Linked DNA regions of Homo sapiens: region 2 is linked to region 1. The links are contacts of gene promoters, found by promoter capture Hi-C in human tissues and cell types (Jung and others, 2019). All regions are on one chromosome and are shown on one strand. The core of a region is centred on a gene start or on the middle of the fragment in contact, and the rest is flanking DNA. Distances in the headings are between cores, read along the strand shown.

Region 1 (4,973 bases), core at 546-3,045:
TTAAATATGTTTTAATTTAACAAACTTTTATCACACCTTATTATGGTTACACCAAACATTGTTTTATCTCTTCAATCATTCTTTTTAAACTTTGACTACAAAATGATCAACTGTAATTGTACGCTAATACTCTTATTGATTTATATGTTTATATAATTTTACTATATATAATAAAGATCAGAATTGTTTATAAAATTTTTGTTTCAGTTATTAATACATATAAATGTAGGTATGTATGCATGAGTTGCAATGTAATATGTGTTGTTGTTAATGTTCTGTTTTTTATTTTTCACTGTTGGTCTTAGTCCCAAAAAAGGTTTGAAAACGTACTAGTCAGCTATCATTTTATTTTTCATGACACTAGTTTAAACCTTTCTTTCTTTACTCAAGGGCCTGACCTTTCCACCTGTCTTCTTGTTCTTTTCTTCATTCCTTCTTTCCATCCTCTTTCCCTTTCGTTAATTCCTCCTTTCACTCTACTCAATCATCTCAAAATCAGTTCTACCCATAACTTCCACCCTCACTCACTCACTCAAAAATAAAAAATAAAATAAAAAAAGGAAAAGAAAGAAAAGAAAAGAAAAACAAAGTGAAATGGAACTCCAGACAGAACCAGGGCAAAATATTATCCTGCAATGGAACTCAAAGTGCATTTAAAAAGCTTTATTAGAAGGAAAGCTAGATTTTTTTTTTATGCCTACAAAGCAAAATGCACGGGTATACTAAACTTTATATAGAAAGAGAGGCAGGAGAGTATGGTGGAGGTAAGAGTCATTTCCTTTACATGACTTTCTCTGTTCATCTACTGGCTCATTAGATCACCCCTGTCCAATTACATATTTGAGCACTTACGCAAGTTTAAATTTTCTATTAGCAACTTTTTAAAAACAAAAGAGAAGTGCAATTAATTTTTATAATATATTTTATTTAACCCAATATATCCAAAATATTTCAACGTGTAATAACAAAATTAATTATTAATATCATTGCAAAGAGTTTATATTCTTTCTTTGGACAGTAATTCTTAGAAATCTGTTGTGTGTTTTACACCTGCAGCACATCTCAGTTAGGATTAGCTGCATTTCAAGTCCTCAGTAGCCACCTGCAGTTAGTGGTTACTGTATATGACGTGCAGTCATGGATGGGTCTCACTGTAAATGGGCTACATTAAAGTGCTCTAAGTTGATAACGAATCACTTGGAGTTCACTAAAGCTGTCAAAAGTAGAAAAGCTTAAGGAACTCCCCCTTCAACCCCTGTAAAGAAAGGGGAGAGAAATCTACTTTATAAGGTTCATATAAATTATATATTACCAAAAAAAAAAGAAAGAAAGAGAGACAGAAAAAGAAAGGGTGGAAAGGAGGGCGACAAGAAGGGAAGGAAGGAAGGAAAATAACGTCAATTGGTTTGTGGGGAGCGGTGAGTGAGTAACCATCGAATGATCCCTACATAGCCAAGACATCTCTTTAAGTTTTGAATGAGTTCTCGAAATCTCCAGGGTGGAAGGGAGCCTCGAGCTTCGCAGAGTCGCACAGCCATCCCCTGACCCGCGGTCTCTCCCTTTGCTGGAAGTCTGGCCAGGCAGAGAGAGTCCCGGCTCGGCCTGAGCTCCCACAGCTGTTCACCTCCCTCAACGGGAATCCCAGTCTTAAGACCCCGGCTCACCCCTCAGCAGCGAGATTCCTTGGCTTTGTTGTAAGACAGCGCCCATAGCCGCTACACAAAGCGTATCCATGGCAACAGCCAATCACAAGGAAGAGACACCGGTTTTTCCCTACAGGTGCTCTAGAAGGACAAACAATCTCGATTCTAAATTGAAACGAACGCAGCATTTCAGGGACTGGATGAGGAGCTTACGGTTTTTTACAGGTAGATTTTAATATTTAAGTAACTTTGGAAAATACTTAATAAAATGAAATTTTGTTATAATTACCCAAGTAGATGTAATCTCACTTTTAAATTTTTTAAATTGTTTCTGAGCTACATATATTTATATTTCCATCTGGTGATTTGCCCATGTATAAGGTGTTCATTCCACAAACCCTTAATCCTGAACAGTGATTTGTGGGACATAGAAGTATGGAAGAGAAGTCAATAAGTTGTTTGCCTTCCATGACAACAGTTTTTTAAAAAAGAAAAGAAAAGAAAAAGGAAAAAAGAAAAAAATCATCAATCAATGCCCATCAAAAACCTCTAACTGAAGGGATGTGGGTGAGAAATTTGAAAAATTATTTTCTGGAGTTATTTTACTGTAAAAATATTGTCACACAGTATTTCAATATAAAACCTTAATTTCTAAGTTTATGTCATGCTATTTAATTTTAACTTAATTTATTAAAGTTTTTTGTGGAGCAAATACATAGGGTACAAAATAATATTTTAATTAATAACATATTTTTTACTTTAATTTTCTTTTAAAGTTTGCAAATAAGGCATTAAATTCTAAAAGGAAGTAGCCATAATTGTAAAAGGTATCTGCTATAAAATAAGCTAAAAGCAAATATTTCACTGAGCCTCTGGAAAAAAAATAGACTACATTTCCTGGTAACAATAAACTTGAATTGCATCAACATAAGAACTAATAATATAAAGTGAGACGTTAATAGATTTCTCATATTAAAAGCACACATGTTAGTTTCCTTTTCAGGAAAGATGATTTTAAAAAATAAACTACACTTGGTTTCAGGTCTAATTAAATTCAGAGTATTTTCATTATCAAAGTCCATGCTCAAATGGAATTTGTTCTTTTTTTTAAGTTTGGTTTTATTGCTGATTTATAGACTATTGAAATTATCTATTTTTTATTGTTTTTTTAGAGACAGGGTCTCCCTCTGTTGCCCAGGCTGGAGTGCAGTGGTACAATTATTGCTCACTGTAGCCTCCAACTCTTGTACTCAAGTAATCCTCCCGCCTTGGCCTCCCAAAGCACTGGGATTATAGGTATGAGCTACTGTGTTCGAACCTCAAACTGTTCATTTAAAATAGACTTTCATATTGTGTTGAAGTTCACATAAGAATCTTAAGATTAGTTTTATTTTTGATTGTGAAACTATCCAGACTTCTAAAAATTATAAATCCTTTAATAATTTCAAAATTAATTTTGAATAACTAGTTTTCATAATCAAATAATTTTGGAAATAATGCCTTAGTTCCTTTCCTTCTCAAAGCTTACTTTGTCAAATATTGACAGCAAAAAAGAAAAACAGTGAAAGATTTTCTGAAGATAAATTAATTCATGGTGATAGATCTCCTATATTGTCATGCGATTTTTTACTTTGGAAGAAAGGACAACTTTATCAATTAGTCATAATTTCGCTAGAATATAACTAATCAAAAATAAAAGGCAGCAGTTATCTAATACATTTGTAGATTATAAGTAAATTTAACTTGACACTGTTGTTTATCAACCATGTAGTATTTAGCAGAAGTCCATTTTAATTGCATTATTCCTAGAAACGGTAACTTCAGATTGAGTATGTTGGTTTGCCTATGACTCTTTAACCTGAGTAGACTTTTGTTTCTTTTGAACATGTTAACTTCATTTCATTTAAATTTTAAAAACAATTTGTAGGTGTGGTTGATTTATAGCATATTGGCTTAACAATGCATATTTCCTTTAGAGAGTACATAATAAATATTTATTGAGAGAATGAAAGAATGAGAGATAACTGTTTGTTCTTTGTTATCTGACAAGACTAATATTCCTTTGAAAATGTGTTGTAGTGAAATCATTTTAGTTTAAGAGCATTTTTCAACAACTGCTTTATTCTTCATATGGCAGTGATATAATTTAAATATCCCATAATATCATTGTTGTGTTCAAAATAGTTGCAGAGCAGGTATTTCTTTGTTTCATTTTCTTGAGGCACCGTAATTATTGAGTAAAAGTAATTTACTATGTAGCTCATAGTACCACATATTGTATTCTTAGGCCTCTCATTCTCTTGTTCCACTTAAAGTGTGTCTCAAGCCTTCAGATTCTCTAACTCTCTTTGTGCTCCCTCCCAGCTGCTGTCATGACCAACCACTTCACAGAAAAATGAGAATTTATGACTTTCCCACAGTTTCCATCCCATTCCCCATTCTCACATGCATGACTCTTGTATAATCTTAATATTTCTATACTGAGATATGATATAACGAGATTCTAGCCTTATGATATAACGAGATAACTAACATCTAGCCAGGCACTGGGCTAAGAGCTTTACAAACATAATCTCATCTAATTTTCACAACATCTCTTTGAGGCATGTACTATTACAATCTGCATTTACAGATGATGATACTGGGGCTTGGGAAAGTTATTGAGAGGGTGGTTTATATCAATGGAGTTAAATCTCATCTCTGCCATTTATTAACTAAGTGACCTTTGGCAAGTAATTTTGCCTTGCTGAGTCTTTCTCTCCTCATTGATGATATTGGGGATAATAGCATTTGCAAAATATCGACGATAAAGGGAATCAATTTAAATGAGACAATGTAGAATATGAGATAATGTTCAAAGTTTAATTACATCATTTCTACAGACTACATTCCATCTTTGATTCTTTGGTTATCCCAATGCTGGCAATTCTACTTCCTACTACATCTCTCATATTGTGATACTGTTTCCATTCCCACAGCCATTTATAAATTATCCCCCTATCTTAAGTGTCTTTTCTAATTTGGCTTCCACATTGAGGCCAGAATTACGACTCCCTATTACCTTCAGGAAAAAAAAAATCTTTAGTAAAGCATATAAGATTTGTCACAATCTTTACTGAGTCTACTTCTTTAGCTTATCTTTCATCTCTTGCCACTCTGATCCATGCCTCCTTACACCTCATTATAAAGCTTCTGAACATAGTGTTCCCTCTGTCTTGAATATTTCCTATCTCTCTCCCATTTTTATCTAACTAGGACCTTCTTAATCTTCCTTCAAGAGTCATCTCAAAATCATCTTCTCTATGAAACTTTCCTGTTTCCTTTATTTCC
Region 2 (4,559 bases), core at 934-3,433, 46 kb after region 1:
CAATCATAATGAATTAAAAAATCTAATAAGAGGCACCACTTATCATAGTAACAATATCTATACAGTATGTTTCAATTAAAATCATCCAGAATGCAAAAAACTCTACAGAGAAAACTTAAGACTTTTTAAAAAGAAACATAGAAGACAATAGGAAAAATAGGAGTTCCATGCTCTTGGATGGAATGATATCATTTCTTCACAAATTAGTTCATCCATTTAATACAATCCCAATACAAATTCCAGTTGAACATATTTTTATTTGTTTATATTCTCTTGCATTTTTTAATCTGTAATTCCTTTTTCTTTTTCTCTTCTTACGTTGCTCCTAGTAGAGAAAAGAAAGCAAGATGTCATGCCCAGCATATTCTTCGTAGACTCTTTTTTAACACTGAAAATTGAAAATTATTTCCAACTTCCTTTTCCTTAAGTCCACAGTAACATTTTGCTTCCCCTGCCTGGGGGTCTTTCCCAGGCTGAACCCCTAAACTGAGCTTTATTTATGCTTTACTCTCCATTCAAAATGAAAGCTCAGATGGCATTAAACAATGTATTCAAGAATAAACTGAAAAATATTTTTCTCAGAGTCATTATTTATTGTTCTGTACATAAACCTAAATTTTTCAGAAAAAGTAAAATAGGTTGGCAAACAAGATCATCAGCAAGTTTTGAATCTGTGGATTCAAAAGAATTGGGCTTTGCTGTACTATGTTAGAGACTGATGTTTCTGTCTCCAATTCCTTTTCTCCATTTCATCTACATAAGCCTTAGCTAGACTTATGCCTACCTAGCTTAGGCTACAATTCCTAGCTTCTCTTTCTGCTAAGGTGGTGGATGTAATCACTTTCTGGTCAATGAATACAATTGGAAGTTATATTTTCAACTATAGGGTCATGCCCATAAAAATAAAAGTTTGTACCCTATCTCCCTTCCCCTTCCCACGGCTGAAATGTGGATGTGGTGGTAAACTACCTTTTGCTATGTGGACGAGGACCATATTTTAGGGGTGACAGAGCAATAAGATGGAAAATATCTGAGTCTCTAATAGTGAAGTCTCTGATAGCGAAGATGGCATGCGAACCCAGGAACATGGGACCAGACCACCAATTAAAAGAGAAACCTCTTTTAAGTTACTCTATGTTTAGTTTCTTCTTATAGAGTTTATCTTTTTATCTTTTTTTTTAATCTTTTTTGAGACAGGATCTCTCTGTTGCATAGGCTGGAGTGTAGTGGTGCCTCACAGCTCACTGCAACCTTGAACCTCCTGGGCTCAAGCAATTCTCCCACCTCAGTCTCCTGAGTAGCTAGAACTATAGGTGTGTGCCATCATACCTGTCTATATATATATATATATATATATATATATATTTTTTTTTTTTTTTTTAAAGAAATAGGGTCTTGTTTTGTTGCCCAGGCTGGTCTCAAACTCCTGACTTCAAGCAATCCTCCCACCTTGGCTTCCCAAAATGCTGGAATTACAGGCATAAGCCATTGTGTGCCAGGCCTTAGCTTTTATCTTATCATTCATAATTTACCTCCATAATTTGGTGTGTGAATCTTTGTTTGGAAGCAGTGAAATAAATAAATAATGAAACACTGTCCCTTTCATACCTGCCATAGGAGTGAATTGTACCAATGGATATAGTTGAGCATTGAGCTAAAACTCCAGCTTTATGCACATGCTGTATATGTGTGTTTCTGTGCATACATATGTGTAGATTTAAAATTCTTTGAATTATTACTTTAAAAAACCGAAGCTGTGACAAAGGTAAGTATAGTACTAGAGTTTAATAAAGAAACATCATTTTATGTATAAGCTTTCAGCTTTCTACATATTTAAAAATCTCCTCTTAAGATTTAAGAAGTGTATCTTATGTTTTCAAAACTGTTTTTTACAGTAGTTTAAAATTTTTAAATTTGTTAATAACCGTGTAGTTTGAGTGAGTTAATACTTTTTCTTAAGAAAAAAACAAAGTCTGGGTAGAATAATGACTGCATATGTGTAAATAAAATGCAAAAGTTTAGGATATTTTAACCAATATGCATCTTAAATATTCTTTAACTGTAATTACATAAATCATCTCATTTTCCCTTCACAACAACCTTTTCCACAGATAAGGAAACTGAGGCAGAGAGGCATGAAGTAACTTGCACTGTAACCTGCTTTTAGGACGTGAAAAGATCTGGGATTTGAACAAGCAGTCTGACTACAGAGTAACCTTTTCAACTTCTATTCTCTGAAGGTTGTTACCAGCTAAGCACCAGTCATGGGATTTACTGACGGCTAAGATTTGAGAAACACTGGAGCAAAAGTGTTCAAAAGCTCCCTTTTCTATGAAAACAGTAACTGATGAAAGGTTGTTTCTAAATTCGTTTATAATGACATAGCAGTGTTGCACTAGTGAATGTTCCTTTTATTGGGAACAAGCAGAGGTGACATACTTTTGTTCTGAAAAGTAGCTTCAAATCTATGAAAGTTTTTTATTTGTTTGTTTTGTTTTGTTTTGAGACAGAGTCTTGCTTTGTTGCCCAGGCTGGAGGGCAGTGGCGCTATCTCAGCTCACTGCAACCTCCACCTCCTGGATTCAACTGATTGTCCTGCCTCAGCCTCCCAAGTGGCTGGGATTACAGGCGCACACCACCATGCCCAGCTAACTTTTTGTTTTTTAGAGACTGGGTTTCACCGTGTTTCCCAGGCTGTTCTAGAACTCCTGAGCTCAGGCAATCCACCCACCTCGGCCTACTAAACTGCTAGGATTACAGGTGTGAGCCACCATGCCCGGCCTTGAAAGTTTGCAAGTTAGAGAAGTTTGTAAAAAGAGGAGCTCCTGATTATGACAAAGTAATGGCTAGTGGCTAGGACAAATTACAAATGAATCTAATCAGACTTAGTATGTAGACTTGGAGTAGGATCACATTTAATTATAATTCCCCTAAGACACGGGCATGAAATGGAATAAGCAATTTTTTTAAGCTAGTATTCCATTAATTATAGTCCCTTAAACTACTTATTGATAATTTATTAGATATTTGAGTTGGATTAGTAGATATTTTATTTTTAAGACGATAGACATTTGAATTAGAATTCAAATAAGAATTTTGTTATCAGGAGACTAGTGAAATGTGCAGAGAATTAGGAATTGGATATTTCATCTTTGAACTCTGTATAAACCACTTAATAGCTGTGAGACAATGGACAAATACATGGCCTCTCTGACTCTACATTTCTAAAACCCTAATTTAATAAAATTTATCTCTGAGCATCATTATCACTATTAAATAAACTAATATAGTTAAGTTACCTAATATTGTGCAGGACTCACAATATGTACTTAAAATGTCTTTATCCTTAACAGCATCCTCATTCCTCTAGTACTAAACTTGCTCCTGTATATTGCCCAATTTTATTACGTAAAAATCCTATTACCAATTAATAGAGCTGTCTCTATATAAATTTAGATTCACAGAGCCATATTTATTAAATAAGGTTTGACATTAGTTCATAGATAGGCATTGAGGAATGTTAAAATAAGCAGTTGTATAAAATACAATATATGTATTTTAAAATGTTCTTGAATATATCTTGAAGATATGAGGATCTCAAAAGAAATTTCTCTCAAGTGTCAGAGCCAGGAAAGACTGCTATACATATTATATTTTCATATATGCAATATACAGTGTGATTCTTTATTTTTACAATTTCTTATGAACCTTACTTATTTATTTTAACTATGGTGCCTCTAACTTCTCCCTCCACTGGATCCTTCCTAGGCTAAAAATGTAAGCTAAAGAAGCATGGGGGAAAAGAGACTCTAAAATAAAGACATTAGTAATAAGATAAATGCTTATTTCTCTCTTACCTAATTTGTGTGGTGATGAACTGCAGGCTGTCTCTGATACATTCAGTAACCTCCATATGATGGAATTAAGTCCCCACGATTTTACCACATTATAGCCTGTGAAAGAGGGAAAGGGAAGAAGTGGAGAGCACAAAGTTTGCTTTTAACTAAGCCTTGTGGAGGTTGCGAAGATCACTTTCACTTGTATACCCCTGGCTAGAGTCTAGAGCCACACTTAGCTGCAAGGGAAGTTAAGAAATTTAGTCTCTAACTCACTGGCCATGTGCCAAGCTAACACTTTTTATAGAAAAAGAGAATAACTTTTGGAGGACAAGTAGCATCTGCCATACTTCTAATCAACGGTTAAGCTTATTCAAATTTCTTCTACCTTAAGAAAAAAAAAAAGCAAAGTTAAACTCAAAAATTTAAAACTTTTTATTATCTCTTCTTTTTTTCAAGCTATCTTATCTTGTTGTTCCCATTGGTAGCCAAACTTCTCAAGTGTTCTTTCCAATTACTATCTCTGTTTTCATATCTCTTCTTCATTTCTGAAGCTATCTGGCATTTTCTCTGCTCCTTATACAACCAGTATGCCTCCTTCCATAGTTTTAATTACATAGTTAGGTCTAATTTCTTTAGTAATTCATTAGAGCATAATTATGGAGTCAGACACAGTTCTAGGTTATAGCAGTGAAAATAAGATCACTTCTTATCATTCTTATT

What was found. Contacts are between HindIII fragments. The study calls those that stand out against the background at their distance.
Region 2: a fragment that was not itself captured here is called in contact with the fragment with the promoter of TSPAN19 in region 1 in 1 of the 25 tissues and cell types used here (hippocampus).

The regions. Positions count from the first base shown.
Region 1 is chr12:85,033,099-85,038,071 of GRCh38, reverse strand. TSPAN19 (tetraspanin 19) reads left to right here and starts at 1,795. Exons shown (of 9, transcript NM_001100917.2): 1 at 1,795-1,868. LRRIQ1 (leucine rich repeats and IQ motif containing 1) reads right to left here and starts at 1,721. Exons shown (of 27, transcript NM_001079910.2): 1 at 1,665-1,721. The HindIII fragment of the contact is 3,053 bases long and covers 947-3,999 here.
Region 2 is chr12:84,988,336-84,992,894 of GRCh38, reverse strand. It overlaps LOC102724680 (a long non-coding RNA gene), which reads right to left. Exons shown (of 4, transcript XR_945154.3): 3 at 3,858-3,953; 4 at 238-325. Among named protein-coding and RNA genes, the nearest start is that of TSPAN19, 46 kb to the left of the region's middle. The HindIII fragment of the contact is 5,317 bases long and covers 1-4,559 here.